5 separate regions of the Homo sapiens genome follow, and all the other regions are linked to region 5. The links are contacts of gene promoters, found by promoter capture Hi-C in blood cells and fetal thymus (Javierre and others, 2016). All regions are on one chromosome and are shown on one strand. The core of a region is centred on a gene start or on the middle of the fragment in contact, and the rest is flanking DNA. Distances in the headings are between cores, read along the strand shown. Region 1 overlaps TMEM185A (transmembrane protein 185A). Region 2 has its middle 10 kb from the start of TMEM185A. Region 3 overlaps IDS (iduronate 2-sulfatase). Region 4 has its middle 42 kb from the start of IDS. Region 5 holds the start of FMR1-AS1 (FMR1 antisense RNA 1).

The links. The method cuts DNA at HindIII sites, captures the fragments that hold promoters and counts their contacts. A CHiCAGO score of 5 or more calls a contact.
Region 1: a contact is called between a fragment that was not itself captured here and the fragment with the promoter of FMR1-AS1 in region 5, in 3 of 17 cell types (total CD4 T cells, non-activated CD4 T cells and total CD8 T cells). The highest score is 8.7, in total CD4 T cells.
Region 2: a fragment that was not itself captured here is called in contact with the fragment with the promoter of FMR1-AS1 in region 5 in 2 of 17 cell types (total B cells and activated CD4 T cells); the score reaches 6.8 in total B cells.
Region 3: a fragment that was not itself captured here is called in contact with the fragment with the promoter of FMR1-AS1 in region 5 in 9 of 17 cell types (activated CD4 T cells, non-activated CD4 T cells, naive B cells and 6 more); the score reaches 15.5 in activated CD4 T cells.
Region 4: a contact is called between a fragment that was not itself captured here and the fragment with the promoter of FMR1-AS1 in region 5, in 1 of 17 cell types (M0 macrophages). The highest score is 9.6, in M0 macrophages.

The regions. Positions count from the first base shown.
Region 1 is chrX:149,622,155-149,625,016 of GRCh38, forward strand. The region is part of intron 1 of TMEM185A (transmembrane protein 185A); the gene reads right to left. Among named protein-coding and RNA genes, the nearest start is that of TMEM185A, 8.2 kb to the right of the region's middle. The HindIII fragment of the contact is 2,111 bases long and covers 346-2,456 here.
Region 2 is chrX:149,640,634-149,643,333 of GRCh38, forward strand. No RefSeq gene overlaps it. Among named protein-coding and RNA genes, the nearest start is that of TMEM185A, 10 kb to the left of the region's middle. The HindIII fragment of the contact is 5,543 bases long and covers 1-2,700 here.
Region 3 is chrX:149,495,329-149,498,028 of GRCh38, forward strand. It overlaps IDS (iduronate 2-sulfatase), which reads right to left. Exons shown (of 9, transcript NM_000202.8): 6 at 1,018-1,188. Among named protein-coding and RNA genes, the nearest start is that of IDS, 8.6 kb to the right of the region's middle. The HindIII fragment of the contact is 421 bases long and covers 1,241-1,661 here.
Region 4 is chrX:149,461,643-149,464,342 of GRCh38, forward strand. No RefSeq gene overlaps it. Among named protein-coding and RNA genes, the nearest start is that of IDS, 42 kb to the right of the region's middle. The HindIII fragment of the contact is 292 bases long and covers 1,193-1,484 here.
Region 5 is chrX:147,910,479-147,913,178 of GRCh38, forward strand. It overlaps FMR1-AS1 (FMR1 antisense RNA 1), which reads right to left and starts at 1,339. Exons shown (of 2, transcript NR_024503.3): 1 at 1,164-1,339; 2 at 1-517. It overlaps FMR1 (fragile X messenger ribonucleoprotein 1), which reads left to right and starts at 1,441. Exons shown (of 17, transcript NM_002024.6): 1 at 1,441-1,752. The coding sequence starts at 1,702. RefSeq lists enhancers at 972-1,181, 1,762-1,861 and a silencer at 1,262-1,601. The HindIII fragment of the contact is 5,224 bases long and covers 1-2,700 here.

The DNA of each region.
Region 1 (2,862 bases), core at 151-2,650, 1.7 Mb after region 5:
CGCCTGGATGAAGACAAGAGCAACAATTTACTATCTTTAAAATTAGATAAATTAGATTTCAAAGCCGAAAGTATTAAAATGCTAAAAGGACTAATAAGGAAAACCTAAATAACAAAAACCTAACATGACCATGGAATATGGAAATAATTTTACAATTTTTCTTTTTTAAGGATACACAGAAATATTTTAATTGTGGGCTTCCTCATGCTACTCTTAAATCATGACAGATAAAACAGACAAAGTTCCTAAGGAAAATACGGAAATGAACACAAGAGTAGATTTAAAAAACAGCAAGGTTATATGAAGAGAATTAAGTAGCAGAACGAGAAAATTTAAAAAACAGCAAGCTTATATGAAGATAATTACGTAGCAGAACAAGAAAACATACTTGCTTTACATATATATAGTTTTTCCAGGGAGAAAAAAAGGATCATGGGGCAGCAATACACAATAAACACACATCTAATTTACAATTGTTAAAAATATTTGAGTGCCTGAAATGTGTGAGATACATAAAAAGGAGCAACAATGCGTTCGCTCAAGATGCTCAGACTAATAGGAACAGAGGGAGATGATGTATCAACAAGTAACTACATATGGTAAACTAGGGGACTTGGAAGATTAATTTCCCTGAGAGAGATGGGAAGAGAAGTGGAATCTGGGCAACAAGTTGGGAATAAGGAATTCCAGACAAAGGGAATAAGATGTTTTCCAATTTTTTAAAAATTATTTTTATTTATTATGGATACAAAACAGTTGTGCCTATTTATGGGGTACACGTGATACTGTGATGCAAGCATACAATGTGTAATGATCAAATCAGAGTAACTGGGATATCCATCACCTCAAGCACTGATCACTTACTTGTGTTAGGCACATTTCAATTCCACTCTTTTAGTTATTTGCAAATATACATTATTAACTATATTTGCCCTCTTGTGCTACCAAACACTAGATTTATTATTTCTATCTAACTGTATTATTGTACCCATTGCTCATCCCCTCTTTATCCTCCCCTCTCCAATTCCAGCAGACTGGAACACACAGAATACTTTCTATAAATCGTGGTGGGTAGGGTGCTGCAGAGACAGGAGAAAGGGTACTGGGGGGAATAAGCCAGAAGTTGGCTGTGGTAACATGGTAGGGGAATGTGAATATCAAGGTAAAGTCCTTGGAATTTATTAATAGGTAATATGGGGCCACTGCAGATTTTCTCAACAAGAGTGACAGAAGATACATATGAGTGTGTAAGGTAGATTGTAATCAGTAGAGACCAGAGGTAGACATTTTATACAATTCATAAAAACACTGACAAAAAATGGATCATTTTCAATACTGATTTGTTAAGCAGTTTAGTAGAGTTACTAAAATACAATTGAAACATAAAAATACCTGGGCAGCTGCCAAAACAAAACTCAAGAGAAAATGTGTTCATTTAAAATGTTTAAGTAAAAGTAGAAAACAAAGAAAAAAAAAAAGAGGCAAAAGAAAACTAGTAAACTGAGTTTCTAAGAAATTTGGGGAAAAAGCCAAAACATGAAAATAATAAAACTAAAAGTAGAAATATAGATATAAAAATGAAACTGATCAGTAATCCCAACAGCTAGCTTTTTAAAAAAATTAAACTACAAAGTTGATCAAGTAAAACAAAGTAATACAATCAGTAAGTTCAAAAGATGTAATTCATACACACTCCTAGTTGGGGAAAGAAAGAATAGTATCTTAACTATATCAATATATTTGCAAGCAAAGTCTAAAAGGTGACTGCATAGCCAAAAGGAAATATCAAGCCTGATTTGCAAAAGAATACACAATAATATGCAATAATACAGTGATAAGAAAATGTATTTACAAAAATAACTTATGGTCATAGCCTAAACTACTTTGAGTTACTTTTCAAGAAACATTCAGACCAGATTCCAAGTATAAAAATAGACTGCTTAATTCTCCACAAACCTGGGAGAAATGGGAGGTTCTGGTTTAACATTAATCACTACTTCTTAAAATTCACTTTTCCAGTTACACCTTTAGAATGGATTTATTCCACTCTCATTTGAATCTGTAGTGTTAGTATACGATGAATCACTAAGTAGTGCTACCTGGGCCAAAGCTAGTATCCTCTCTGAAATTTACATGGAGCTTTCTGCTCAGGCTCAAATTCCCTCTCTCCACTTTGCAGGGTTGGGAGAATAGGGAGGGAGAAAAGGAAGAAGGGAGGGAGAGAGAGAATATACTTAGCAAAGGAATGATGACTCTGAATGTAAAAGTTCTAGTATCTGTTTTCTGCATATCATAAGAATGCAGCTGGACTCTTTTTAGACCTATCAGTTTTTTTCCAGTGGAAGCTGCTGGCTTCACTGGAGCACATACACGCGCATTAACACATGCCTGCATGCACGTACACACGCACAAGCACATACACACACACAAACTTTGGATGGCACATCCCAGTCTAAAGCTTGACAGAATGGCTCCAAATGACAACCTGACATACTCACAAACTATCAAGGGAACTGCCCCTCTTACACCTTATTAACCAAATTTAAAGTCTTTTAGTGGAGACTTTAGCTGGTTTTATTAAGATAAAAAATGTTTAAGAGCATTTAACCAGTAGATACAAAAAAGCACAAAAGCCAAATAAAAGCAGAGCCCAGGCCAGTAGGAAGATCTGCATTTAAGTTCCTCAACTGCCATTCATCAGCGGTGTGGTCTTGGGTGAGTTATTTTCCCCCAGGTCTGTCTCCTCATCTGATTCCTCATATACTGATTCATTAAGACAAGGGTATGTGAAAGCACTGTGTAAATGATACATTTTACCCATTCTAGCTTTAGCAGTATTATGAAAGACAAAAGTTCTGCCAC
Region 2 (2,700 bases), core at 51-2,550, 1.7 Mb after region 5:
ATTCCTTACTGGGGAATTTCAAATGATGATATTTGCGTGTTAACATAATCATCAGATCCTGTCTTGGGCCCAGTGGTTGTTAGTAGAGATAAGAACGGTAAAGCTGTAAACAGGGCCAACTGAGGCCAAGTATTGGGGACTATGGGCACATTTGGGCACAGCAACGAGAGAAGGAAACCCCTGGTCTCAACTGAGATTTTGGCTATTTTGGCCACTGCCTTCCACCCATACTGAGGAGGACAACACCACTTTCGGAAGCCTGAAGGTTGCAGGTCACATGAAAAACTTCCTGTAGTCAGCATCCTATGGGGTGATTCCTACCCAGGGCCTTAAATGCACAGAATCTGGTTTCTCACATCTAAAGGAGCAAATGTGTATGACAACTCCTAGGTGTAGAGTGATCTGTGTTCTGTGTTGTTATGGTTTGAGAATTAATGTATTGCTTCTGCAGCACCTTCAATAGAAATGACTGTGACAAAATAATGTGTCTGCTTCTATTTCAGTGGCAAAGAGTAATCACATGACCCTTCCTAACTTCAAAAGGACTGTGATGTTCCCCTGTGTTCAGGAAGGAAAGGAGGACAAGACATAGATGAGCACTTGTAGTATCTCCCATAAACTGTTTTGCAGATGTCCAACATAAAGCAACTACAATTAATCCTTGAACAACATGGGAGTTAGGGGCACTGACCCTCCATGCAGTCAAAAATCCACCTATAACTTTTGCCTCCCCCAAAACTTAACTAATAAGCTATTGTCGACTGGAAGCCTTATTGATGATGTAAACAGTTGATTAACAGATATTTTTGTGTATTATGTGTATAATATGCTGTATTCTAACAATAAACTATAAAAAAAATTAAGAAAATCATAAGGAGGAGAAAATATATTTACTATTCATTAAGTGGAAGTAAATCATCATGAAGATATGCGTCATTATCATCTTCACATTGAGTAGGCTGAGGAAAAGGAAGAGGAGGGGTTAGTCTTGCTGTCTCAGGGCTGGCAGAGGAGGAAGAGGTAGGAGGGGAAGCAGGAGAGGCAGGCATACTCAGTGTAATTGAATGAAAATACGTTGTAATTTTCTTTTTCTTATATCTAAAAGTTTCTATATGGTACCAATCCTTCTTCCACTGTTTGTTTTAGTTTCAGTGCCCACATCATAGAAGGGTCCATGTCGTAAAAGGAGTCAAAAGCAGTCTTAAAAAATTGGAACCCTTCTGCCAGATTGTCTAGTGTTAGTTTTTTTTCCTGGCACCGTTTCTTATACATCTTTTTCCTCATGATCTGTCACTGGTTTGGAAACACTCATCTCCATCAAGTCACCTTCTGTTATTTCCTCTGGCATGGTGTCTATTAGCTCTTGAATTTTTTCAAGATTCATATCTTGAAATCTTTTACATTCCATCTTTTGGACCATATCCACAACCTCTTTCATTGTTTCCTTATTTGTCTCTGTCGTAAATCCTGTGAAGTCATGCACAACATCTGGACATAATTTTCTCCAGCAGAAATTTATTGTTTAAAGTTTGATGGCTTTCACAGATTTTCTATAACAATAATGGCACCTTCAATGGTAAAATCCTTCCAGACTTTCATAATTTTCTCTCTATGGGGTTTCTCTTCCATAGCGTTGACAATCCTTTCCATAGAGTACCATGTGTAGTGAGCCTTAGAAGTCCTTATCCTGATTTAGAGGCTGAATTAGAGACCTTGTGTTTGGGGATAACTTCGATCATTTCAGCACCCTCAATGTTGAACTCATTGGGTTCTGGGTGGCCAGGGACATTGTCTAATAGCAAAAGAACTTTAAAAGGCAGTCACTTACTGCCAAGGTACCTCCTGTCTCCAGGGACAAAGCATCGATAGAACCAATCCAGAATAAGTGTTCTAATTGTCCAGGCTTTCTTGTTGTACAACCCAAAGACTAGAAGCTGATATTTTATCTTTCCCTTTCAAGGTTTGAGGGTTAGCAGCTTTATAGATAAGGACAGTCCTGATCACAAACTTGACTGCATTTGCATAAAACAATAGAGTTAGCCTATTGCTTTGTGCCTTAAATCCTGGTGCTTCCTTCTCTTCCTCACTAATTAATGTCCTTTGTGGCATTTTTCCCCCGGAGTAGGGTATTTTCATCTGCATTAAAAACCTGTACAGGCAGATATGTTTTCTTCTCAATAATTTTCTTAATGACGTCTGGGAACTTGTCTGCTACCTCTTGGTTAGTAGAAGCTGCTTTTCCTGTTATCTTGACATTTTTCAAGCCAAATCTCTTTCTAAGATTATCAAACCACTGCCTCTATCCCAGTGGGTATATATATATGGATATATATATATATATATATATACCTGTGCTTTGCCCAAACTTGCCCATACTCCCCAATATCTGGCCTCAGTTGGCCCAGTTTATATATAATGTGTATACATATATATATTTCATTTTATTATGTATATATTTAAATATATATGTATATACATAATAAAATTATTGAACCATCCTTTGCTGGCATTATATTCTCCAGCTTTATATTCTACACGGATCTTTTGCGTTAAGTTATCATATAATAACTTGGATTTTTCTGGATTCATATTAGAATCTATAGGTATGCCTTTCTTGTGGCAATTCTGCACCACATAAAGGCTGCATTTGCCATATGGGATAAAAAGGTGTTTCACAAAATGTGCAAGGTTTTCACACCT
Region 3 (2,700 bases), core at 201-2,700, 1.6 Mb after region 5:
GTTGTGCAAACTCAGGGGCCAAGTAAGTTTGGATAGCAAGGGATATCTGTATGCAGTGGTTTTGTTCTGTGTTTGCTTTAAACAATACTCTACAGCAGAGGCTCTCAAACTTCTGATGAATCAGAATCACCTGGTGTGCTTTTTTTTTTTTTTTTTAAGAAATGTCGGTTGTCAGGTCAAGTTCCACCTCCAGCTTCCAATTGTGTAAATCTGAGTGGGCCAAGACTTTGCATTTCCAACAAGCCCTCCCAGAAATTCTAAGGCAGGTAGTCCAGGATGCACACTTTGAAAACACTGCCATCTTCCATCCGCTATAGCTTGCCTGCCACAGCATTCATGTGGTAAGAGAAGGGCAGGGTTCTGTGTGGAATATTCCAGAAAGAGCATTAGTCAATGTGTATTCTGCTCTCCAGGGAGAAAGGGTGACTGATGAGTCAGTGTGAGGATTCTAATTGTGTGGTTGCTCCGCCCCTAAATCATGGCAAAGGAATGCCGGACATCACAGCTGGGTGGCACTGGCCATGATGGTGTCCCAGTTCCCTCTGCACCAAGGGCCTGTTCACCAAGCCACCCCCTGAGAGTGACAGCTAGCCAGGATGGGCTTTCCCACAGAGGGAACCTGCAAGTACCAGCAAACCAAGCATTCTGGGCTGCTCGGGAGTTGCCCATCACTCTACAATTAATGAGCTGTCACCTGAACAGTATCCCCTGGGTTAGGAACGGTCACCCAGGCTGGTTCCCCACCTCTGTGTCCACACACAACAAGTCACCAACTCTCTGGACATTCCCTTCTTTAGAAAGTAAGACACTGGTTGGGAGAGTCCTGATCCAGGCAACACTGCCTGTGTCCTAAATACCTATAGGACACCTCCACCCCAGCACTTTGCCTGATAACTCACACAAAGAAAGCTCTTAATAAGACATTATAGGTGGAGTTGTGTCTACTGAGAAGAGTGGTTTCACCTACGACACTATGTCATCAGTGTCCAATACATCCCCAAACTATGTCCTTGATACCTGAAAGTCCACAGGAATTGGACCATACGGCACACTGATGTTTAAGGCTTGGACGTCTTCCCGTTGCCTGATGTCCATCCAGGGGTTGTAGGCCACAGGGGGTAGGCCATCAGGGACCTCGGGATCGGGGGCCAGGGTGATGTTCTCCAAGGGATACAACTTCTGAAATTCCTTGGGGAAAAACACAAAGCCACAAAGTTGTCACTCTTTTAGCAAAAGCACAAGCTTGTGGCTCTATCACTGTCTATACTGCCTTTTCTCTAAGCCTGGGATGCATTTGAGTGGTGGCTCACTAGCATTCCCCACGTGCTCGGCCCTGACCTGGAAGTCCAGCCTTAAGTTACTCTCATGAGATGCCAATGGCAATGAAATCATACGACTTCTGTTTCCTACAAACTGAGCAGCAACAACTCTCTTCCTTCATACAAACAGACGCCCTTCTGTTCCTGTCCCCACCTCCTGCCTGGCTAGAAAAGTGTGGTGAGGTGTTGGGTTCCCAAAACCACCCTCAGGTTCAGCAATTCACTAGGGGAACTCATAGGATTCAGCATTTAGTCTCACTCACAGCTATGACTTATTACAGTGAAACACACTCAGCAAAGAAAAAAGGCACATGAGGCAAAGTCTAGAGGAAACTAGGCACAAGCTTCAAGTCCTCTTCCAGGGAAGTCACATAGGATACTTACTTCTCCCAGCAACGAGTTGTGTGACAATACATGTGAAATGCTGCTAACTAGGGAAGCTCATTAAAGCCTCATTATCCAGTTTTTATTTGGGGCTGGTCAGGTAGGTACTATCTGTCTGGAACATATCAAAATTCCAGGCTCCCAGAAAAAAAAAAACAAACCCAGGGGTTTATCATCAACCATAATGTTTGTCTAAACGGTTTAAGCATAGTAAGCCAATTCTGGGAATAGTGAGAACACTTCAGAAATCAAAGTTCCCAGATGCCAGCCAAGGGCTAGACTTATAAGCAGGCCTTTCAAAGAATCACAGCCAGGCCAGCTTTGTTAACTGTTTTCTGCAAAGAGGCAGGAGAGGTGAACCTCACAGCCTTCTTCTATCAAGGGGGCTGACAGCTCCTACTAGGAAAGCAAGATCCCCTGGGCCAATCAAAGCAAGATACCTGCAACATCAAAGAGCATACTGCTGGTCTCTACTCTCATTACATGTGAGGGGCATTCTCTGCAAAGTCAAAAGGATGGGATGCTCAGGCCCTCATAAAACATGATAGGGAAAAATGGAAAAGGATTCTAAAACAGAAAAGACTACATGCTCTAAATGACATACAAGCAAGTACAGGATTTGAGGTTCCAAGAAGCAATGCAGTGCTTTGTGTTTAGATGATCTAACCTGACAGGCTCAGGGGGAACAGGCAGTTTTTGAAGAGAGTTTCACATTCCCTGGGGCTGTTTTGGAAGGGCCATCCCTTATTACAGGCTTTGGCAGCCAGCTCTGATTCACTACTCTGTGGTGATCTCACCATCCAACCCAACATCTGCTCAATAAGTTCAAGGAAAGGAAATCAAACCCTCCAGTGGAGTGAAGCGGAAAGCCAAGCATTTCTTACAAGATTCTTACATGTTCTTGGCCTTGACCTCTAAATCCCATCTTTACTCCACTGAGGACACTAGTGCCCATCAGGCAACCATGGTGCCTGGCGATGGCAGGATGTAGCCACCT
Region 4 (2,700 bases), core at 89-2,588, 1.6 Mb after region 5:
AATCTTTACTTTGCCATTTGACACCAATAAAGAATCTCTAAAGAGCTCTCCTAGATAAGATGAATGAACATAATTTGTAATGGAAAATAGGCAGTTAATTTTCATCCTTGACTATCCAGCAGTCTTGAAGTGAAGTTAATTTGCCTATTGTTCTGACCCATTCTAGAGCCTTCTGAAAGCAAAAATCTACATTGCTCCCCAAGAATCCTAGGAGGTTACTCAAAGGACCAATGGTTGGTATTGGGGGAGTGTGAGCTCAGGACTACTGAGAGACTACTAATCTGCCCTTCCTGACTGAGGAGGACAGCTGCACCTCAGATGACCTCAACAATAACACAAACTTGTTAAGAGAGCAAAAGCCAGGAAGGATTAACAGGGAATAAGAAGGAGTAAGAAACGGCGACAAGTAACTCAGTCTGTCAAGGAGATGAAACTAAGGGTTAAGGAATCGTCAAGAGGTGAGAAGGGGCAGTTATTATCCTAGTTTCTCCTGCTTTGCAATGTCTGTAACAGTCTCTCTCTCCTTCCTTCCTCCAGACACCCCATGCACTGGAATACTCTATGTAACAGACTTACTTAAGGCTTGGGGATAGTGGAGGGGAATTACTGCACAGAACAGAAAAGGGAACAATGCAGAATTGAAGATTAGACATCTCAAAGTTCCTTGGTTTCCCTACCACAATGTTTGTCCTTGGGTATCTTTCTTCTTAGACTCCAATCTCCTCTCTTGTTGCTTGTGTCTGTTCTCTCTATAGAAATCATTTTCCTACCTCTCCTCTTGTACAAATTTCAGAGCCCCATCTCATCCACTCTCTATGACATTTGTCAGCAAACTTTTTCTGTAAAGGGCAAAACAGTAAATATTTTATGTTTTGCACACCATAAGATCTTTGTCATCACTGCTGAACTCTGCTTTTATGGAGCAAAAGCAGCCAAAGATAATGCATAAATGAATCGACATGGCTGTGTTCCAATAAAGCCTCATTTACAAAAGCAAGTGGTGGGCTACATTTGGCCCTTGGGCCATAGTTTACCATCCCGTGCTCCAGCAGAAAATTGAAAATTGAAAATTCTCCTCAAGTTCTTCAGTTCCTTTATTACACATGGTGATTGAACTCTTCTTTATCTCAACTCCTCTCATTACGTTCTTCCTTCTGGGGCCTCCCTGTGTGTACTAAAGGGGAGTATAAAAAGCTTTCCTAGACCAAAGATCCTTTTATTTTTTGTTGAGGCACCTTCATTCCTTAGTGTGTTGGTCAGCTTTTCTGCAGTAACAAACAACCCCAGAATCTCAGTGGCTTACAAAGGAAACATTTATTTCTCATATACAGTATAGGTCACTGGTTTGGGTCAATTCTGCTCCATGTGTCTTCTCATTCCAGAACCCAGCCTGAATGATGCAATCTCCCTTTGGGAGATGATGTTCTTATTTCTGGCAGAAGGAAAGAGAAAGAATGCTGGCAGAAATTCACAATGGCTCTTAAAGCTTCTACTGGGATGTAGTCGGTTATATCCACTCACATTCTTTAGCTAAAGGAATGGACATGGCAGGTTAAAACTCCATGGGACAGGAGTTTATGGTCCTTCCATATGGGGAGGAGTTTACTGCAGGTAACATGACAATCACAGATGATGTTTCATCCCCTTACAGGTAATTAAGAAGAGAGAATAAATAATACACTCTACCAGAGGTGTGGTAGAGTGTATTATTCTCTCTTCTTAATTACCTGTAAGGGGATGAAATGCAGAAGTTGTTTCACTTGTTCCATTTATAAAGTAGCTTTTTTTTTAATATAATGCGGCACTGAGGAAAAACTCTTGTCGCCCTCATTACACCCAGTGCTTTCTGAAGCCTTTATCAGCAGCACATTTACAGGTCCTGTGAGAGGATGGGACACTTCTGCAGATGGCTCAGTTCCTCCAACATGCGTTGATTCTTATGAGCTCTACTTACAGAAAGAGATCTTATCTCTGATTGGGAGACTCTGATATACTGATGAAATCAGCCAAACCTCATTTACGTATATTCTATGATTTTGGAACTTGTGATATAAGATACAGCCTAGCCTGGAATTTACCTTTGGAGTCTATGCCATTAAGGCTATTCACTAAATATTTCTGGTACTCCTTCTGGGAACCTGATCTCCAGAAGTTAAGTATGGATAACCGCATGACCATGTCACTCTCTGCCAGAAAATTGAAAAGGCAGCACATAATTCTCCATGTTCCTTGTTCCCACCATGGTGATTGTGAAAGCAAATTTTGACAAGAGGGCCTCTACCAGCCTGAATTCCTGAATGAGTGTGAGGAATGAAGCCCCCTGCTGATCTGCTTTGGAGAAATCATGTGAATAAGAAGTAGAACTTTGTCATGTTACACCACTAAGATGTGTGGGGTTGTTTGTTACCACAGCATAATGTAACTGATACCGACTAATAGACTATGATGAAAGAGTTTCCCACTGAAATTAGTAGTGTAAACATAATTTCAGGGGTCAGACAATCTACTTAAGAAAGTACTTTTCCTCAAGTGCTTTAAAAGCACCTATTTACTTATGAATAATTGCCATATTGATAAAAAATCATTCTTTTCTCTTCATTAAGGCACTTAGGTTCCTAAAGATACTTTCTCAATGTAGTATGAGTCATAGTATGAATTTAGTTTACAGTATTCAGTAATTCATTATGGATTTCAAGAAAG
Region 5 (2,700 bases), core at 89-2,588:
TTCTTGGCCTCATGTGACTACTCCAAAGACCCTAGTCCAAAAGGTCTTTCCTGTTTGCTATGGCCTTGAGGAATGTGGCCCTAGATCCACCGCTTTAAAGCTGGAGTTCCACCAGCAGCAACATCCTCTCATTCTGGGGCACCTGCCTGGGGCAGGTCATCCTGCCTCTGCCAACTCAGTGCTATTAGTTAACTCTCACCTGCCATATTCCAGCTGGAATCATCTCCCCTTCTCCACCCCAGACTAGGTCATGTTCCGCCATCATGGAAGCGCCTATTCTTCATACCCCTTATCACAGCTGCAACTACTCATTTACTTGTCTGACAATTTGATTTATGTCCACCTACTTTGCTAGGTACTAAGTTCAATGCTGGCAGTCGTTTCTTCTTTTTTTTTCTTTTCTGTTTTGCTCACCGATTTCTCGTTAGCACTTAGCACAGTGTCTGGCACACGATAGATGCTCCGTCAACTTCTCAGTTGGATACCAGCATCCCGAAGGGAACATGGATTAAGGCAGCTATAAGCACGGTGTAAAAACAGGAATAAGAAAAAGTTGAGGTTTGTTTCACAGTGGAATGTAAAGGGTTGCAAGGAGGTGCATCGGCCCCTGTGGACAGGACGCATGACTGCTACACACGTGTTCACCCCACCCTCTGGCACAGGGTGCACATACAGTAGGGGCAGAAATGAACCTCAAGTGCTTAACACAATTTTTAAAAAATATATAGTCAAGTGAAAGTATGAAAATGAGTTGAGGAAAGGCGAGTACGTGGGTCAAAGCTGGGTCTGAGGAAAGGCTCACATTTTGAGATCCCGACTCAATCCATGTCCCTTAAAGGGCACAGGGTGTCTCCACAGGGCCGCCCAAAATCTGGTGAGAGAGGGCGTAGACGCCTCACCTTCTGCCTCTACGGGTCACAAAAGCCTGGGTCACCCTGGTTGCCACTGTTCCTAGTTCAAAGTCTTCTTCTGTCTAATCCTTCACCCCTATTCTCGCCTTCCACTCCACCTCCCGCTCAGTCAGACTGCGCTACTTTGAACCGGACCAAACCAAACCAAACCAAACCAAACCAAACCAGACCAGACACCCCCTCCCGCGGAATCCCAGAGAGGCCGAACTGGGATAACCGGATGCATTTGATTTCCCACGCCACTGAGTGCACCTCTGCAGAAATGGGCGTTCTGGCCCTCGCGAGGCAGTGCGACCTGTCACCGCCCTTCAGCCTTCCCGCCCTCCACCAAGCCCGCGCACGCCCGGCCCGCGCGTCTGTCTTTCGACCCGGCACCCCGGCCGGTTCCCAGCAGCGCGCATGCGCGCGCTCCCAGGCCACTTGAAGAGAGAGGGCGGGGCCGAGGGGCTGAGCCCGCGGGGGGAGGGAACAGCGTTGATCACGTGACGTGGTTTCAGTGTTTACACCCGCAGCGGGCCGGGGGTTCGGCCTCAGTCAGGCGCTCAGCTCCGTTTCGGTTTCACTTCCGGTGGAGGGCCGCCTCTGAGCGGGCGGCGGGCCGACGGCGAGCGCGGGCGGCGGCGGTGACGGAGGCGCCGCTGCCAGGGGGCGTGCGGCAGCGCGGCGGCGGCGGCGGCGGCGGCGGCGGCGGAGGCGGCGGCGGCGGCGGCGGCGGCGGCGGCTGGGCCTCGAGCGCCCGCAGCCCACCTCTCGGGGGCGGGCTCCCGGCGCTAGCAGGGCTGAAGAGAAGATGGAGGAGCTGGTGGTGGAAGTGCGGGGCTCCAATGGCGCTTTCTACAAGGTACTTGGCTCTAGGGCAGGCCCCATCTTCGCCCTTCCTTCCCTCCCTTTTCTTCTTGGTGTCGGCGGGAGGCAGGCCCGGGGCCCTCTTCCCGAGCACCGCGCCTGGGTGCCAGGGCACGCTCGGCGGGATGTTGTTGGGAGGGAAGGACTGGACTTGGGGCCTGTTGGAAGCCCCTCTCCGACTCCGAGAGGCCCTAGCGCCTATCGAAATGAGAGACCAGCGAGGAGAGGGTTCTCTTTCGGCGCCGAGCCCCGCCGGGGTGAGCTGGGGATGGGCGAGGGCCGGCGGCAGGTACTAGAGCCGGGCGGGAAGGGCCGAAATCGGCGCTAAGTGACGGCGATGGCTTATTCCCCCTTTCCTAAACATCATCTCCCAGCGGGATCCGGGCCTGTCGTGTGGGTAGTTGTGGAGGAGCGGGGGGCGCTTCAGCCGGGCCGCCTCCTGCAGCGCCAAGAGGGCTTCAGGTCTCCTTTGGCTTCTCTTTTCCGGTCTAGCATTGGGACTTCGGAGAGCTCCACTGTTCTGGGCGAGGGCTGTGAAGAAAGAGTAGTAAGAAGCGGTAGTCGGCACCAAATCACAATGGCAACTGATTTTTAGTGGCTTCTCTTTGTGGATTTCGGAGGAGATTTTAGATCCAAAAGTTTCAGGAAGACCCTAACATGGCCCAGCAGTGCATTGAAGAAGTTGATCATCGTGAATATTCGCGTCCCCCTTTTTGTTAAACGGGGTAAATTCAGGAATGCACATGCTTCAGCGTCTAAAACCATTAGCAGCGCTGCTACTTAAAAATTGTGTGTGTGTGTTTAAGTTTCCAAAGACCTAAATATATGCCATGAAACTTCAGGTAATTAACTGAGAGTATATTATTACTAGGGCATTTTTTTTTTAACTGAGCGAAAATATTTTTGTGCCCCTAAGAACTTGACCACATTTCCTTTGAATTTG